Linked DNA regions of Homo sapiens: region 2 is linked to region 1. Evidence: promoter capture Hi-C in human tissues and cell types (Jung and others, 2019). All regions are on one chromosome and are shown on one strand. The core of a region is centred on a gene start or on the middle of the fragment in contact, and the rest is flanking DNA. Distances in the headings are between cores, read along the strand shown. Region 1 holds the start of CYP4F12 (cytochrome P450 family 4 subfamily F member 12). Region 2 holds the start of CYP4F11 (cytochrome P450 family 4 subfamily F member 11).

Region 1 (6,299 bases), core at 1,989-4,488:
ATGAGTGAATGGGCACAGGAATGAGTAAGTGAGGAGAGGAATGAGTGAGCCGTCTCCCTTGGTTCTCTGGGTTCCCAGACCCCAGCCACCATCAATACACAGCTCCCTGAACCCCTACTGGAAGTCCCACCCCTCTGGAAGTCCACCCACCCTGAGACGCCAGACCCCATCCAATCCATTGAGGGCATGAACAGGACAAAAGGCAGAGGAAAGGAAGAACTTGCTCTCTCTTCTGCTGCTGGGATATCCGTCTTCTCCTGCCCTCAGAACTCCAGGGACTCAGGCCTTTCTGGACTCAGGCTGAATTTACACCACCAGTGTCCCTGGTTTCTGGCTTGCAGATGATATATCATGGGACTTCTTGGCCTCCATCATCACATTATCCAATTCCCATAATAAATTCTTATCTCTCTATCTCTTTCTGTCTCCATACATACATGCATTAGAGATAAGAAGAAACACCCTATCTGTTTCTAAGGAGATTCCGTTTCTAGGGAGAACCCTGACTAATGCACCTCCCTAGATGAAGCCACAGCAAGTCCCCCCACAGCCACCGGATGTGGTGCAGCCTCTGCAGTGAGCAGCGTGTCTGGATTCTCAGCAGCTGCAGTGGGTTTCTGCTGACTTCTGCTCCTTCTCTCTTGGAGCTGTCCCCAAGATCCAAGGGTAAATACCAAAGCAGAGAGAGAAGACAAGCTGTCTGCTCAAGAGGATGTGTTTTCTCATCCTGGATTGATTTCAATCTGGGGATTGCTATATGGGAAGGTCCCCATGGAAGGAGGTTTGTGGGCAGCAGTGTGGCCTCAGGACATATCCCTAGAGCTGGTTGCCATATCCTTTTGTGTCCTGGTTGGTCCACATGGGCACTGGTTCCTCCCACAGACAAAGGGCCTGCGTCCTGAGGGCCCTCCATTCTCAGCAGCCTCCAGGGGAGCAGAGGTGACTCTAATGTCCATCAGGATGGCAGCTCCCACCTAGGAGAGCCTCACTTATGCCAGGTTCTGTGCTAGTGCCTCCTGTGCACCTGTGGACACACCGATCAATCCTGCCTTTTGTAAGTGAGCAGACAGAGGCCACATCCCCCAAAGGGGAGGGCCGGTCCCAGTCGGAGGGAAAGGTTTGGGAGTACCAAGGACGGCTTCTGAAAGGGGAAGGGAGTGGCCAAATTATATCCAGGTTGGGCTACAGGGCTCACTGGGACATCTTACTGGGGAAGAGCACATTGTCCCTGGAAGGAGAGGGTGTGGGAGACTGCCTGCACTTCTCTTCTGGTCCAGCTGTGTCCCTCCGTGGGGAAGGAAGTCAGAGATAATTCCTGCGGGAAAGCAGCAGCCCAGAGATGGGCAGATACAAGCAAATGGGCCATGCAGGGAGCAGCCTGTCTATCGGGGCTCAGAAGGCTTCAAGTCCAGCAGTGGAGAAGGTGGGAATGCCAGGAGAGCCCTGCTCTGTGCACCCCACAACCATACAGGAGCCTCTGGGAGGGGCACTACGGTAGGGAAGACAGGCAGGAAAAGGATCCAAGCAGGCTGAGGTGGGAGGACAGGGAGGTGAGAAAGGTTTGGCATGGAACTGCAGAGGAATGAATGAATGAGGAAAGGAATGAGTCGGTGGGTAGAGGAATCAGTGAATGAGGAGAGGAATGAGTGAGTGAGGAGAGGAATGAGTGAGTGGGGAGAGCAAAAAGTGAGTGGATAGAGGAATAAGTGAATGGGTAGAGGAATGAGTGAGTGGGCAGAGGAATGAGTGAGTGATGAGGGGAAGGAGTGAATGAGGAGAGGAATGAGTGAGCAGAGGAATGAGTGAGTGAGCAGACGAATAAGAGTGAGGAGAGGAATGAGTGAGTGAGGAGAGGAATGAGTGAATGAGAGGAATGCGCGAATGAGAGGAATGCGCGAGTGAGGAGAGGAATGAGTGAGTGAGGAGAGGAATGAGTGAGTGGGTAGAGGAATGAGTGAGTGAGGAGAGGAATGAGTGAGTGGGTAGAGGAATGAGTGAGTGAGGAGAGGAATGAGTGAGGAGGGGAATGAGTGAGTGAGGAGAGGAATGAGTGAGTGAGGAGGGCAATGTGTGAGTGGGTAGAGGAGTGAGTGAGTGGGTAGAGGATTGAGTGAGTGGGTAGAGGAGTGAGTGAGTGGGTAGAGGAATGAGTGAGTGAGGAGAGGAATGAGTGAGTGAGGAGAGGAATGAGTGAGTGAGGAGAGGAGTGAGTGAGTGAGGAAAGGAGTGAGTGAGTGGGTAGAGGAATGAGTGAGTGAGGAGAGGAATGAGTGAGTGAGGAGAGGAGTGAGTGAGTGGGTAGAGGAGTGAGTGAGTGGGTAGAGGAGTGAGTGGGTAGAGGAATGAGTGAGTGGGTAGAGGAATGAGTGAGTGGGTAGAGGAGTGAGTGAGTGGGTAGAGGAGTGAGTGAGTGGGTAGAGGAGTGAGTGGGTAGAGGAATGAGTGAGTTAGCAGAGGAATGAGTGAGCCATCTCTCTTGCTTCTCTGGGGTCGCAGACCCCAGCCACCATCAATACCTAGCTCACTGAGCCCCATTCCTGCTCCTCTGGAAGTCCATCCACCCTGAGACCCCAGACACATTTTGCTGTCACACTCACCAGGCCCAGGTGACCCCAAAACCAGTTCCGTTTTGGGGGCTGTGGGAAACACTGGAGCCGGCGGCAGTTGTTATAGAAGGCATAGGTCCAAGCCAGGATGCGGGCGAGTAGCCAGGAGCCCACAACCAGCAGCAGGAGTAGCCATGGGGACGTTGCCACCGGTCTGAGGCCCAGCCAGGGCAGGCTCAGCAGCGACATCCTGCAGGGCAGAGGGGATGCAGGGTGAGGACCTGAGGCCCAGGGAAGAGCTCCGGGGACAGTGTATAGGGGCGAAGTCAGGAACTGCTGGGGGCAGGGCAGGGAGGGCTCAGGGGTGAGTAAACGAGGGCTGAGATCTGAAGTCCAGAAAGTCCCAACCAAAACCAACAACTAAGTGGCCTCCAGTAACCTGGTAACCACACAGAAAGGGAAAGAGATGGGCCGATTAGAGTCCAGAAGGGCCCCACCTGAATCCTTGGGAGTTTGCTAGGAGTCCAGTTACCAGGAAACCCCCAGTTTCCCATGCCAGCATCTTGGAGCCACCCCAGCCTTAGGCAGTCCCCTCTTCATCCCAGGCCAGGACCTTCCAGCCCTGCCACCCCCAGCCTGGTACCTTCTGTCGGGAGCAGCTTGTCCCACACAACCTCTTCTCCTCTTCTGCTGGGAGGTCTTTGGCCCTGGCCCCTGATCTAGGGAAGGCCGTAGGAGGCGGGGCTGGGCTGGGCTGGGCTGAGGCAGCCAATCCCCACAGCCTGGGTGTGTCTTCCGTGCCTGGGCAGCCAGCCAAAACCTGGGGTTGGGCCCACTGGGTGCAGCTCAGGGTGCCCCAGCACGAGCACTGAATTCTCAGGTCTCAGTACCTTCTTGGGAGTTTGCAGGGGAAGTTGGAGGGTGGTTAGAGGGGACTCTGAACCCCAAGTTTACCTCCACCCTGCCCTTCCAAGACAAGGGTGTTCAGATAAAAGCATATACTTATCATGACAGTTGGCAGCCAGCTGAGCTGGGCCAGGCCAACCCTTGTCCCAGATCATCTGGGCTCCTCTCCAAACATGGGCGGGGAGGATGTCAGGCACTACATCTTGGTGCAGACTTAGGAGATTCAGAGACAGAAGCCTCTCATCTCTGGCTTCACAGCCTGGCAAGAGTTCAAGTCCTGCCTCCTGGCAGCCCAGGGCCTGAGTTGAGGCCTGACTGCTTGAAGCAGGAAGAAAGAATCCAGCCCCAACCCCGCTGAGGATTACCTTCGTCAGATTCTGGGGATAAAGAGCCCAGCTGGAGGAGCAAACCTAGAAGCTGGGCTCAGCTTAGGAGGACAGAGCGGAGGCACAGGGGATGAGGCTGAGAGGGGCCTTGAGCTGACGGGGTCCAGGCAGGGGAGGGCAGAGCAAGGGGATCCCGAGTGGAGTCCTTGTTCTGCCCTGTCCTTTCTCTGACTGTGGGCAGTGTGGCCATCCTGGGCTCAGGCTTCCCATCTGGGAAATGGGATGTCAGATGAGGCCTTAGAGGGCGACGGAGGAAGGCTCCTAAGAAAAGGGAGCTCCAAAAAGAGGGACTGAAGGGAAGGGGATGACAACTAGCACTTGAGCTGCTGTGTGCCTGTCTCTACTCCATGCGAAAGACTGTACGGAAAGCACTACTGTGTGCACCTACTGTGTGCCAGTTTCACTATATAAAGTGCACTTACTGTGTATCAGATACTGTACATAAATTCTGTCTACTATGTGCCAGGTATGCCACATAAAGCTCACCTACTGTGTGCAGCATGCTGTACATAATGTAAGCTTACTTTATGCAGAGTACTTCATATAAAGCGTGCCTACTCTGTGCCATGTGCTGTATATAAAGCATACCTACTGTGTGTCAGGTGCTCCACATTGAGCATGTGTACTACGTACCTGGTGACCCACAGAAAGCGCACCTACTCTGCATCAAGTAATCTACATAAATCTTGTCTACTGTGTGCTGGCTATTCTACATATAGTGCACCTACTGTGTGCCAGGAGCTCCACATAAATACTGTCTACTGTATGCTGGGAGCCCTTCACAAATCCTGTATCTTGAGTCCCTGGCCCTTTATATAAACCATGCTTGCTGTGTGCCAGGTGCTCTAAATAAAGCACACCTACTGTGTGCCAGATGTTCCACATAAAATGCTTCTCCCGTGTGTTAGGTCCCCTACATAAAGTAAAACTACTCGGTGCAACATACTTGACATAAAGCACACATACTGTGTGCCAGGTACACTATATAAAGTGTGCCTTATTGTGTGCCAGATATGCTACATAAAGAGCACCTACTGTGTGCCAGGTATGCCGCATAAAGTGTACCTACTATGTGCTAGGTACGCCACATAAAGTACACCTACTGTGTGCCAGGTGCTCTACATAAGGTGCACCTACTATGTGCCAGGTGCTCTATATAACGTGCACCTGCTTGTATCAGATGCTCACCTGCATCACAGTGCCCAAAGCTGTCCCACCACCCTCCCAACAGCTCCCTAGGCCAGAACCCTGGGCATTGTTGAAGAGACCTGAGTGATGGCATCCAGAGGAGAGAAGGTGTCCATTTAACACAAAAGCAAACTGAGGCTCAGAGAGGGCAGGCCTCTAGTCCAAGTTGCAGAGCTCATAGGAACTCAAGACTATGAGACCCTCAAGTCCAAATCCGTTCCCTCTGCCATGCTGCTCCACCCCCATTCTTTAGTGTCAATGCCATATTAATATAGGGACATTTATAATGGAGTAATCTCAGGCAGTGTGATAGCCCCAAAGGGGAAATATCTTGAGGCCCTTGGATCAGCACCTGGCTCCTTCTCCCACATGCAGGATTCTCCTCCCAACAGATCCAGGGCTCCCCTCCTGGCCCTCCCTAGATCCTGTCCTGAATTGTCCTGTGGGGTGGACTCAGGTGAGGGGGGCGCTTGAAGGAGGGGGCTCCTAGCAGAACTGCTGAGCAGGAGGGTGGGGAAGACAGTACTCCTGACACTGGCTGGGTACTGGGGAGCCCCTAGACCACCCCCACCCCACCACCCCTGCCAGCTCAATCAGCCAGGGGATTCAGGCACCTGGTCCTACAGCTTCATTCGCGTAGGGTGCATCCCCCAAAATCCCCACTACCTCTGCAAGGACAGACCTCACCTGCTGGTGGTTCCATCCTTCTTAGGCTCAGGGAGCAAAGCCAGGGGTTGATGAACAGGCAGGGTCCTAGGGACACAGAAGAAAGTGCCCCCAGTGGCTAGAGGGGCTCAGCTCACTGCAGACCTCCTGTGTGCCTGGGATGGGCAAGCAGGTTAGAGCAGGAATGGCGGCCATCGACATTGCCAACATGAGTCATGGAGCCTGTTTTAAGTCTTTTAACTATATTAACCATTTTGTTTTTCCATTTTACAAATGAGAAATCCAGTCTGGAAAATATTTGAGTGACTACCCACAGTCATAGAGCTGGTGGATCTGGGCTGTGCACCCAGACCACCCACCCAGCCTCACATTGTGCCCCCCTCACCACCAGGCTGTGCTCCTTCACGTCCGTAAATGGGCGTTTCAGCAGCAGCACCTCACAAGGTTGTTGCAATAACGAAAACAGATTATGCATGCAAAATGACATTTCAGGGATAAAAAGAAGGGAGTAAAGGGGAAGTTCATCTACTAAACATGTGTTAAGTGGCATCATCTCCCCTCACATGTTGTCACCAATTCTCTCAGCAGAGCAGATCTTTGCTGTCCA
Region 2 (6,121 bases), core at 1,121-3,620, 260 kb before region 1:
TCCATTTATACATGTCCCTGTATTAATATGGCATTGACCCTAATGAATGGGTGCAGAACAGCATGGCAGAGGAAAAAGGTTTGGGCTTGAGGATCTCACAAACCTGGCTTCCTGTGAGCTCTGTAACTTGGGCTAGAGGCCTGCCCTCTCTGAGACTCAGTTTGCTCTTTTGTTAAATGGATGCATTCCCTTCTCTGGATGCCATCACTCAGGTCTCTCCAACAATCCCAGGGCTCTGGCTCAGAGAACCGAGGGGAGGTTGGTGTGAAGGCTTTGGGCATGGTGACGCGGGTGAGCATCTGACATGAGCAGGTGCACTTGACCTAGAGTAGGTGGAACACAGTAGGCATGCTTTACCTAGAGCCCCTGCCACATAGTAGGAGTGCTTTGTGGAGAGTGCCTTGCACACAGTAGGCATTCTTTATGTCAAGAACTTTACATAGAGTAGTTTTACTTTATGTGGAGCACTTGACACACAGAAAAAACACTTTATATAGAGCATCTGGCACACAGTAGGTGTGCATTATGTAGAGTACCGGCCACACAGAGTCAGAGTTTATGAAGAGTACCCAGCATCCAGAGTAGGCACGCTTTATGTAGAGCACTTGACACACAGAAAGAACACTTTATGTAGAGCATCTGGCATACAGTAGGTGTGCTTTATGTAGAGTACCGGACACATGGAGTCACAGTTTATGAAGAGTACCCAGCACCCAGAGTAGGCACGCTTTATGTAGAGCACTTGACACACAGTAGGTGCACTTGACATAGATCACCAGGCACGTAGTAAACATGCTCTACATAGAACATCTGACACACAGTAGGTGTGTTTTATATAGAGCAGCAGGTGCAGAGTAGGTACACTTTACATAAGTTACTCCGCACAAATTTCACTTTATATAGAGGACCGAGAACAAAGAAGCAAGATTTTCTGTAGAGCGCCCAGCACACAGTGGACACACTTTTCATAGAGCACTTGGCACACAGTACACAACATGTATACAGAGTACCTGGCACATGGTAGGTGTGCTTTATTTAGAGTCCAGTACACAGTAAAAGAACTTTGCATATTGTCTTTTGCAAAGAGCAGAGACTGACACACAGCAGCTAAAGTGCTAGCTGCCAGCCCCTTCCCTTCACTCCCTCCTCAGAATCTTTCATCTGTCCCCATCTAAGGCCCATTTTCCTGTGATCCCTCCTCTGTCCCCCTCTAAGGCCTTATCTGACATCCCATTTCCCAGATGGGAAGCCTGAGTCCAGGAGGGGCTCACTACCCACAGTTAGGGCAAGGGGAGGGCAGAATAAGGACTCCACTCAGGGTCCCCCATCTCTGCCCTCCTGTCCCTGGCCCCATCCACTCATGGCCCCTCTCAGCCTTACCTCCCATCTCCCCTCTCTGTCCTCCTATGCTGAACCTAGCCTCCAGGTATTCTCCTCCAGCGGGGCTCTTTATCTCTAAAATCTGACCGGGTAATCCCCAGCACAGTTAGATAGTTTGTTCCTACTCCTGTCAGTCATGTCTCGACCCAGGCCCTGGGTTGCCTGGAGGCAGGACTTGAACTCCTGCCAGACTGTGAAGCCAGAGGCCAGGAGCTTCTGTCTCTGAATCTCCTAAGTCTGCACTGAGAAATGGTGCATGATGAACTCCTGGACCACATGTGGAGAGGAGCTCAGAACATGATCTGGCACAATGGTTGGCCTGGCCCCACTCTCTTGCCACCTGAACTCTCAAGTTCATGACTTTATCTGCCACACTCTTGCCTTGGAAGGGCAAGGTGGCTGTAAACTTTGGGGCTCAGAGTCACCTTTGACTCTTCCTCAAGATCCCCTCCCACTCAGGTGTGAGATGTTGAGACCTGCGGATCCTGTGCCCATGCTGTGTCACCCTGAGCTGGCTCCTCTGCACCCAGCTGGCCCTACGCCAGGTTTTGGTTGGTTGCCCAGGCTTGGAAGACACACCCAGTCCATGGGGATTGGCTCGACCAGCCCAGCCCAGCCTCGCCTCCCACAGCCTTCCGGAAATCAGGGGCCAGAGGCAAAGACCTCCTAGCAGAGGGGGAGAGGAGGGTATGTGGGACAAGCTGCTTCTGATAGGAGCCAGGCTGGCAGTGGCAGGGCTGGAGGGTCCTGGCCTGGGATGGGGAGGGGACTGCCCAAGGTTGGGGTGGGTCAAGGCTGCTGGCCTGGGAGACTGGTGATTTCCTGGTAACTGGACCCCTGGCAACCTCCCAGTGATTCAGGCTGGGCCTTTTTGGATTCTAATCAGCCTCTCTCTCTCTTTCCCTTTCTGTGTAACTGGAGGCCACTTGGCTGCTGGTTTTCATTGGGCATTTCTGGACTTTAGATCTCAGCTCTTGTTTACCCATCTCAGAGCCTTCCCTGATCTGCCTCCAGCACTGCCCATCCTTGCCCCTTTCCACTGTCCTTGGAGCTTCCTGGGCCCTTCCCTGGGCCTCAGGATCCCACCCTCCATCCCGTCTGCCCTGCAGGATGCCGCAGCTGAGCCTGTCCTGGCTGGGCCTCGGGCCCGTGGCAGCATCCCCGTGGCTGCTTCTGCTGCTGGTTGGAGGCTCCTGGCTCCTGGCCCGCGTCCTGGCCTGGACCTACACCTTCTATGACAACTGCCGCCGCCTCCAGTGTTTTCCTCAACCCCCGAAACAGAACTGGTTTTGGGGACACCAGGGCCTGGTGAGTTTGTCAGCAGGACGGGTCTGGGGTCTCAGGATGCATGGAGTTCCTGAGGGGCAGGAATGGGGCTCAGGGAGCTGGGTTTTGAGGGTGGCTGGGGTGTGGGAACACAGAGAAGAGAGGGAGGCAGCTCACTCATTCCTCTGCCCACTCACTCATTCCTCTCCCCGCTCACTCATTCCTCTGCCCACTCACTCATTCCTCTGCCCACTCACTCATTCCTCTCCCCGCTCACTCATTCCTCTCCCCGCTCACTCATTCCTCTCCCCGCTCACTCATTCCTCTCCCCGCTCACTCATTCCTCTGCCCACTCACTCATTCCTCTTCTCGCTCACTCATTCCTCTGCTCACTCACTCATTCCTCTCCTCACTCACTCATTCTTCTCCTCACTCACTCATTCTTCTCCTCACTCACTCATTCCTCTGCTCACTCACTCATTCCTCTCCTCACTCACTCATTCTTCTCCTCACTCACTCATTCCTCTCCTCACTCACTCATTCTTCTCCTCACTCACTCATTCTTCTCCTCACTCACTCATTCCTCTCCTCACTCACTCATTCTTCTCCTCACTCACTCATTCCTCTCCTCACTCACTCATTCTTCTCCTCACTCACTCATTCTTCTCCTCACTCACTCATTCCTCTCCTCACTCACTCATTCTTCTCCTCACTCACTCATTCCTCTCCTCACTCACTCATTCTTCTCCTCACTCACTCATTCCTCTCCTCACTCACTCATTCTTCTCCTCACTCACTCATTCCTCTCCTCACTCACTCATTCTTCTCCTCACTCACTCATTCCTCTCCTCACTCACTCATTCCTCTCCTCACTCACTCATTCCTCTCCTCACTCACTCATTCTTCTCCTCACTCACTCATTCTTCTCCTCACTCACTCATTCCTCTCCTCACTCACTCATTCCTCTCCTCACTCACTCATTCCTCTCCTCGCTCACTCATTCCTCTCCCCGCTCACTCATTCCTCTCCTCACTCACTCATTCCTCTCCTCACTCACTCATTCCTCTCCTCACTCACTCATTCCTCTCCCCACTCACTCATTCCTCTCCCCGCTCACTCATTCCTCTCCTCGCTCACTCATTCCTCTCCTCACTCACTCATTCTTCTCCTCACTCACTCATTCCTCTCCTCACTCACTCATTCCTCTCCTCACTCACTCATTCCTCTCCTCACTCACTCATTCCTCTCCTCACTCACTCATTCCTCTCCTCACTCACTCATTCCTCTCCTCACTCACTCATTCTTCTCCTCACTCACTCATTCCTCTCCTCACTCACTCATTCCTCTCCTCACTCACTCATTCCTCTCCTCACTCACTCATTCCTCTCCTCACTCACTCATTCCTCTCCTCACTCACTCATTCCTCTCCTCACTCACTCATTCCTCTCCTCACTCACTCATTCCTCTCCTCACTCACTCATTCCTCTCCTCACTCACTCATTCCTCTCCTCACTCACTCATTCCTCTCCTCACTCACTCATTCCTCTCCTCACTCACTCATTCCTCTCCTCACTCACTCATTCCTCTCCTCACTCACTCATTCCTCTCCTCACTCACTCATTCCTCTCCTCACTCACTCATTCCTCTCCTCACTCACTCATTCCTCTCCTCACTCACTCATTCCTCTCCTCACTCACTCATTCTTCTCCTCACTCACTCATTCTTCTCCTCACTCACTCATTCCTCTCCTCACTCACTCATTCCTCTCCTCACTCACTCATTCCTCTCCCCGCTCACTCATTCCTCTCCCCGCTCACTCATTCCTCTCCTCGCTCACTCATTCCTCTCCTCACTCACTCATTCCTCTCCCCGCTCACTCATTCCTCTCCCCGCTCACTCATTCCTCTCCTCGCTCACTCATTCCTCTCCTCGCTCACTCATTCCTCTCCTCGCTCACTCATTCCTCTCCTCACTCACTCATTCCTCTCCCCACTCACTCATTCCTCTCCCCGCTCACTCATTCCTCTCCTCGCTCACTCATTCCTCTCCTCGCTCACTCATTCCTCTCCTCACTCACTCATTCCTCTCCTCACTCACTCATTCTTCTCCTCACTCACTCATTCCTCTCCTCACTCACTCATTCTTCTCCTCACTCACTCATTCCTCTCCTCACTCACTCATTCTTCTCCTCACTCACTCATTCCTCTCCTCACTCACTCATTCTTCTCCTCACTCACTCATTCCTCTCCTCACTCACTCATTCCTCTCCTCACTCACTCATTCCTCTCCTCACTCACTCATTCCTCTCCTCACTCACTCATTCCTCTCCTCACTCACTCATTCCTCTCCTCACTCACTCATTCCTCTCCTCACTCACTCATTCCTCTCCTCACTCACTCATTCCTCTCCTCACTCACTCATTCCTCTCCTCACTCACTCATTCCTCTCCTCACTCACTCATTCCTCTCCTCACTCACTCATTCCTCTCCTCACTCACTCATTCCTCTCCTCACTCACTCATTCCTCTCCTCGCTCACTCATTCCTCTCCTCGCTCACTCATTCCTCTCCTCGCTCACTCATTCCTCTCCTCGCTCACTCATTCCTCTCCTCGCTCACTCATTCCTCTCCTCGCTCACTCATTCCTCTCCTCACTCACTCATTCCTCTCCTCGCTCACTCATTCCTCTCCTCGCTCACTCATTCCTCTCCCCGCTCACTCATTCCTCTGATGTGCCATCCCAAGTCTTTCTCACCTCCCTGTCCTCCCACTCCAGCCTGCTTGGATCTTTTTCCTGCCTGTCTTCCCTGTGTTACTGCACCTCTGAGGGTCTCCTGTGGGAGTGGTATGGGTGCACAGAGCAAAGATCTCCTGGCATTTGCACCTTCTCCACTGCTGGACTTGAGGCCTCCTGAGTCTACTGTCCAGGGACTACTCCCTGCCTGGCCCATTTGCTTGTGTCTGCCCATCTCTGTGCTGCTGCTTTCTCACAGGAATTAGCTCTGAGCCCCTTTCCATACGCAGGGACACAGAGGGTCCAGAAGAGAAGTGTGGGCAGTCTCCCGCTGCCTCCTTTTCTGGAGGCACCTTCCTCCTATCTTGCTCTTCCTCACTAACATGTCCCAGTCGGCCTTGTTACCTGCCTGAATAAAAGTTGGCCACTCCCTTCTCTTTTCAGAAGCTGTCCTTGACTCCGCAGACCTTGGCCTCCGACTTAGACCTGCTCTCCCATTTGGGGGACATGGCCTTGGTCTGCTCACTTGTAAATGGCAAAATTGATGGGCGTGTCCATCGGTGCAGTGGAGGGTGAATAGGACACACTAGCACAGAGCCTGGCCTGCAGGAGGTGCTTACTGTAGACAGTTAAGAGTCACTCCTCTACGCCTGGGGGCTGCTGAGAATGGAATGTCCCCAGTGTGGGAGGAACAGCCGCTGGTGGGGACCAGCCAGGACGTGAAAGGGATGTAGGAACCAGCC

What was found. Contacts are between HindIII fragments. The study calls those that stand out against the background at their distance.
Region 2: a contact is called between the fragment with the promoter of CYP4F11 here and the fragment with the promoter of CYP4F12 in region 1, in 4 of the 25 tissues and cell types used here (IMR-90 fibroblasts, lymphoblastoid cells, small bowel and 1 more).

Annotation. Positions count from the first base shown.
Region 1 is chr19:15,670,026-15,676,324 of GRCh38, reverse strand. It overlaps CYP4F12 (cytochrome P450 family 4 subfamily F member 12), which reads right to left and starts at 3,238. Exons shown (of 13, transcript NM_023944.4): 1 at 3,190-3,238; 2 at 2,598-2,796. The coding sequence starts at 2,795. The HindIII fragment of the contact is 17,744 bases long and covers 1-6,299 here.
Region 2 is chr19:15,930,778-15,936,898 of GRCh38, reverse strand. It overlaps CYP4F11 (cytochrome P450 family 4 subfamily F member 11), which reads left to right and starts at 2,370. Exons shown (of 12, transcript NM_021187.4): 1 at 2,370-2,688. The coding sequence starts at 2,491. The HindIII fragment of the contact is 18,991 bases long and covers 1-6,121 here.